Regions from separate parts of the Homo sapiens genome. Here region 2 is linked to region 1. The links are contacts of gene promoters, found by promoter capture Hi-C in human tissues and cell types (Jung and others, 2019). All regions are on one chromosome and are shown on one strand. The core of a region is centred on a gene start or on the middle of the fragment in contact, and the rest is flanking DNA. Distances in the headings are between cores, read along the strand shown.

Region 1 (2,931 bases), core at 376-2,875:
TTTACTGTCGCGATGTATCCGGGAATTATTTTTAAGCAAAACTTTGACAACATCCCTTGCCTGCCCTCCATGAGCGGGGAGAGCGTCTCAAGACCAGGGTGCTCCCGCGTGGTCCCAGGGGGCTCCATTCTAAGATGGGGGATGGGGGATCCACCTGCCAAGACCCATTCCACCCCCAGAAAAAGGTACAGAGAAAAATTTCCATTCCAAAGAAATGCACTCCAGGCCCCTCCAGTCTCGACTTTCCCCAGGGGTCCCCAGGTGGGGACGGGGGCAGCCCGGGAGACACCTCCGAGGCTGGGGGTGGGGAGGAGCCTCCGAGGTCGAGGGAGACCCAACTTCAGAAGCAGAGAAATCCCCTCTTTGTCTGCCAACTGGAGGCCGGGTGTGAAGCGGGCGCCCCAGCGCAGCCCCTCCCCCGCTCAGTTTTTTTCTTTTTTGGAGGGCGTGTGAAACTGACTTTTTTTGAGGACTACGAAACCGCACTTTTTTGTGGGGTAGCTGAAACCGATTTTAAGACAGACTTAGTTGGGGGGGTGGCGAGCTAAAACGGGCATTCTACGGGAGCTGGAAGACTTCTGGGGCGTCCCAAGGACTTTGAGAGACTTGGAGAATGTTTGAAGCCACTTTGCACGGCGCCGAAGGCGGGGGGCGCGCTGGAACGCCTTTTTCCCGGGGGGAGGCGGCCCGGGAAGCCGGACCCCCCTCCCCCCGCAGCCGGTGCAGGCGGTGCGGCCCGGGAGCCTTTGAAGCTCGCAGCGCGGCCGCCGCCTCGCCCCGCATTAACGCGGAGCAGATGTTACCCGCGCGCCCCCCCCCGGCCCGCCCGGCCCCGACCAGCGCCTGCAGCGCGCGGCACCTTCCCCGCGCAGACAAAAGGACGTCCCTCCCGCGCGCTCCCCACCCCAAACTCCGGCGCCCGGGCCGGGCCCCCCTCTACCCGAGAAAGGGGGCGCCCCGGGGTCCCCGTGCGCCCGGGCTGGGGGGGACGGTCCTCGCGCCTAAGTTGCACAGCCCGTCCGGCGCCCCCCGCGCCCCCGCCCGGGGCTGCTTAAAGTTTCCCGAAGTGCCCGGCCCGACGGGGGCGACGCGGGCCTGGCGAGCTCCGGGCTCCTCCACGTCGCCGCCCCCCCGGCGCCGCGCGAAGTTGGAGAACAATGACTCCCGGGCCGCGGGGCGCCCCCCGACACCGCCCCCGCCCCAACTTCCTCCGCGCCCCCCCCCAACAAGCGCGCGCGGGGCGGGCCGGGGTTCCCTGGGCACAAAGCACGGGGGTACCGGGCGCGCCCCCCGCCCCCCGCCGGGCTCACCTGCTGGGCGCGGCCGGGCACGCGGCGCGTGGGGGGGGGCGGCGGCATGAAGCGGGGGGGCCCCCCCCCGGACAAAGGTGCGTCGCGGCCGGGCCCCCGAGGGTCGCGCGTGGGCGGCGGCGGCGGCGCGCGTGGCCCGGGCCCCTCCCACCCCCGCGTGGCCCGTCCCGCGGGGCCCGTGCGCGCGGCCGGCCGGGGCGCCCCTGGGGCAGCGGCGTGCGCGGTGCCCGCGGTGCCCGCCGCCGCGTCGGCTCCGGCCCGCTACGCCCGCAGCCGCCGCCGCTGCCTCATCTTCCTGCGGCGGGAGACATGTTCCGCCCCCCGCCCGCGCCGCCCCGCCCCGCCCCGTGCAGGCCCCGCCCCTGCCCCGCCCCCGAGTGCCCCGCCCGGCGGCCCACGCGGATCCCTCCGCCACCTCCGGGCGGCTCGGGCCCGAACGCCCTAGCTCGGCCTCTCGAGCACCCTCGTGAGGACCCCGAATCCCGTGAGGTCCAGAGCCTGGGAGCGGGGACGCGCAGAGGAGGCGGTCGGGCCACGGCGCGGGGAGAAATCACGGACTATCCCCGTCCGCGGAAGCACACACGAGCTGTGCGCTTAGTCCATGACGCAAGCGAGTAAGGCCCGTGAGATTGAAAGCTAAGGCAGAGCAGTCTGGTCAATCGGAAGCCGCGAAAGTCTGATGGGCGGGGATCCTAGCCATTCGTGGTGAGGCCCCGCCTCCTTTCTTCTCGGCCCCGCCCCTCAGCAGAGGCGGGACTCTGCGAGCGAGAGGCCGCGAGAGGCGGCCGGGGTGGGTCCTGGAGTTTTGTTCTCAGGTTGGCGTGGCCGCCCGCGCGGAGCCTTCTGCTTGGTTATATTTGCGTTCCTCGGGCCGGCCCCGCGTGCTGAGTGGTGCGAGCGGGTATCACGGCCCCGAGGGGGCTACGTCAGACCCATTTTCCCGGCGGGAAAACCGACTCTGGCTCCGGCTCTGGGTCAGAGAGCCCCGCGGGGAGTCTCAGCGGTGCCTTTGCCGACTTGAGTCTCCGTCTCGGCATCTGTGAATTTGGACCTGACTTTGGACAGAACTCAGGCCAGATCTGGCTTCCTGATTCTTAGTAGTCCGTGTCTACATTTTAGTAAAAAGTGACCCCGCCTAGGATCGGGCGCCGTGGCTCCTGCCTGTGATCCCAGCGCTTTGAAGGAGGCCGAGGCGGGAAGATCGCTTGAGGCCAGGAGTTCGAGAACAGCCTGAACAACATAGTGAAACCCCCCCCACCCACACCCGTCTCTAAAAATATTTAAAATAATTTAAAATAATAATTTAAAAAGTTGACCGGACGCGGTGGCCCACGCTTGTATTCCCAGCACTTTGGGAGGCCAAGGCGGGCAGATCACCTGAAGTCAGGAGTTCGAGACCTCTCTGGCCAACACGGTGAAACCCCATCTCTACTAAAAATACAAAAATTAGCCGGGCATGGTGGCGGGCACCTGTAGTCCTAGCTACTCGGGAGGCTGAGGCAGCAGAATCGCTTTCACCCGAAAGGCGGAGGTTGCAATGAGCCGAGAGCACGCCATTGTACTCCAGCCTGGGCAACAAGGACGAAACTCCGTCTCAAAATAAATAAATAAATAAGTAAAA
Region 2 (2,951 bases), core at 422-2,921, 680 kb after region 1:
CCTAGCCAACACTGGCCAGAACGGGGACCCTGGCCCTGCAAAGGTAAGGCACTGAGCTCTGTCAATAACCAGTGGGCTCAGAAGAAGACCCCAAGATGATGGACCCCAAAAAACAACCCTCAGTTACAACCTCCTGAGAGCCCTTGAGGCTGTGGTACCCTGGCTCCTGACTCACAGATCCTGTGAGATAATAAAATGGTGCTGTTTCAGCTGCTAAATGGGTGATTTGCTATGAAGGGCAGAAAACAAAGGGAAGCAGTGTGACCAGCAAGAGCGGCCGCTCACTCATGTCCTTCCATGTCCGGAGTCAGCATGGTGTAGACTGAGAAAACATTTTATTCATATTCCTTTTTCTTTTTGTTTTGAGACGGAGTCTTGCCCTATCGCCAGGCTGGAGTGCGGTGGCACAATCTCGCCTCTGGGGTTCAAGCAATTCTCCTGCCTCAGCCCCCCGAGTAGCTGGGACTACAAGCGTGCGCCACCATGCCCAGCTAACTTTTTGTATTTTAGTAGAGACAGGGTTTCACCACGTAGGCCAGGATGGTCTTGATCTCCTGACCTCCTGATCTGCCTGCCTCGGCCTCCCAAAGTGTCAAGATTAAAGGCATGAGCCACTGTGCCTGGCCTCCTTTTTCTCTTTTGAGACTGGGCCTTGCTCTGTGGCCCAGGCTGGAGTGCAGTGGTGCGGTCATAGCTCACTGCAGCCTCAAACCCTAGGGTGAAGCCACCCTCCTGCTTCAGACTCCCAAATTGCTGGGATTACACACGTGAGCCGCCCCGTCCGGCTGGGGCACTGTGATTTTTAATAACTCTCATGCCACCCAGTTGTCTACAATCCAGGGACAAAGAGGTTTGGGTCCCCGTCTTACAAAAAAAAGAAACCAAAGATCCAAGAGGCTATTGAATAAGTGACGTGTTGTCTGACTGCTTACTTCCTGCTGAGAGCTGCCTCAATTACATTACATGCCTGTAACCATTCATTCTCACCACCCCCTGTGAAGTGGGTGGAGTTACCAGCCCCATTTGACAAATGAGGAAACGGAGGCTAGGAGAAGGCAGCTCACTTGCCCAGTCAAAAATGCTAGGCTGGGCATGGTGGCTCATGCCTGAAATCCCAGCAATTTAGGGGGCTGAGGCAGGCAGATCGCTTGAGGCCAGGAGTTTGAGACCATCCTGGCCAACATGGCCTCTCTACTAAAAATACAAATATTAGCCGGGCGTGGTGGTACACATTAATTCCAGCTACTCGGGAGGCTGAGGCACAAGAATCACTTGAACCTGGGAGGCGGAGGTTGCAGTGAGCTGAGATCGCACCACTGCACTCCAGCCCGGGTGACAGAGCGAGACTGCGTCTCAAAAAAAATAATGAAAATAAATAAAAGAGGTGCTTCCGCATGCGTCCTCATCATCTCTGTTGCTGGGTTTATTTGAAATTTTTAAAGAGGGGGTACCGACAGCGGGAGCCTCCTCACCTTCGCGGCCTCCCTGGAACTTTACCCGGATCGTCTTGTCGATGTACTTGGACAAGTCCAAGATGCTCTCCTTTTTCTTCTTCTCCTTATCCTGCGGGGAAAGCAGAGCGCATGAGACCTGGAGCGCGGCCCGAGCTCCACGCCCCCCGGCTCCAGATTCCGCCGCGCGCTCACCGCCATCTTGTCGCGCCGTGTGGCTCTTCGCAGGCACCGCCCCGCGCCCTTTGACCTCCCCCACGCGCATGCGCGGCGCATGCGTGGCCCGGGGTCTCGGGGCGTTGCTGGGAAACATCTGCCGTTGGTTGCGGCGGGCACCGGCCGACATGGCGGCAGCGGTGGCGGCTGCGCTGGCGCGGCTTTTGGCGGCCTTTCTGCTCCTCGCGGCCCAGGTGAGCGCGGCACCGGTCCCGACGGCACCGCGGGCTGCGGCCCTTCGGCCTCTCTGTCCCCGGGCTACGCGCAGGAACGACCCCGCTCGGCCCGTCTTGGGGGTCCAGCCTCGGGGATCCGCCGTCCCCGCGTTGTCGGCCGGCGGTGCCGGGGCTCGGCCGTGACCTTGCGGGTCTGTCCCCGGCTCCTCTCCTTTCCCCGCCTCGGAGGCCCTCCGCCGCTGCAGCGCCACTCACTTCCCACCGGGTCTGAAATTTGTGCCCCCTCCATCCTCCGGTTCTGCTTCTCCGTTTCGGGGTCTCCAGTTGCCGCCGGGGACGCCTCTCTCCGGCTCTGTGGCCTTGAGCAGGCGGCTGCCCACCCCTCTCCGAGCCTCAGTTTCCCCTTAGGCGGAACGGGCACGGTGCTAAGCTAACCTCACCCTAGGGGGTGCGGTGGGGGAACCCAGAGGCGTCCCGCGCGTCCCCCAGTAACTGGCAGCATCCTGGAGCGGCCAGGAGTCCAGCCCTGCACTGGGGTCGGATCCCCGCTCCATCTTTTACTCCGTGACCTTGGACGATGGAATTCGTGTGCAGAAGGAGGACCGACTATGGTGTGGATTCTGGAGGTTCTGTCCAGGGTGACCAGCGCCCAGGGCCAACAGGCCTTCATTATGTTCATTGTGTGTCATTTGATGTAAAGAGTGTCAGGTTCTAGTGGGGACAGTCTACGAGATCGCACTGTCATAACTGCATCTTTTATTTTCTTAATTCCAAATCTTCCCTCTCTCCTGAGTTCGGTGGCTCAGGCAATGGAACCTGGAGCAGCCCCACAAATGCAGCCCTTAACCTTCACTACCCCCTCAGAGTTCTCACTCTTAAGGCGTCGCCGCCACCTGGCTCCTCAGTCTCCACTCCTCCAGCCCCACCGCTATCCCTCTGCTGTGGCTGCCTTTGTCCACCACATCCCCAGTCCATCCTCGACACAGCAGGGGTGACCCTTTCAAAGTATGTCAGACCGTGTCGCATCCAGATGAGTGCGCCGTCCAGTTGTGACCTGGCTGCTGGGGAAGCCTGCAGCTCATTGCAGTCGCTTCACTCTCTAGTCTTT

Evidence for each region. Contacts are between HindIII fragments. The study calls those that stand out against the background at their distance.
Region 2: the fragment with the promoter of LSM7 here is called in contact with the fragment with the promoter of TCF3 in region 1 in 4 of the 25 tissues and cell types used here (IMR-90 fibroblasts, bladder, lymphoblastoid cells and 1 more).

Annotation. Positions count from the first base shown.
Region 1 is chr19:1,650,990-1,653,920 of GRCh38, forward strand. TCF3 (transcription factor 3) reads right to left here and starts at 1,626. Exons shown (of 19, transcript NM_003200.5): 1 at 1,311-1,626. RefSeq lists silencers at 545-664, 645-867, 675-904, 995-1,074, 1,605-1,734 and 1 more and enhancers at 2,085-2,134, 2,255-2,364. The HindIII fragment of the contact is 17,847 bases long and covers 1-2,931 here.
Region 2 is chr19:2,326,915-2,329,865 of GRCh38, forward strand. LSM7 (LSM7 homolog, U6 small nuclear RNA and mRNA degradation associated) reads right to left here and starts at 1,672. Exons shown (of 4, transcript NM_016199.3): 1 at 1,647-1,672; 2 at 1,473-1,563. The coding sequence starts at 1,652. SPPL2B (signal peptide peptidase like 2B) reads left to right here and starts at 1,770. Exons shown (of 15, transcript NM_152988.3): 1 at 1,770-1,861. The coding sequence starts at 1,796. RefSeq lists silencers at 677-776, 1,797-2,056 and enhancers at 1,047-1,106, 1,387-2,041, 1,477-1,526, 1,537-1,586. The HindIII fragment of the contact is 22,122 bases long and covers 1-2,951 here.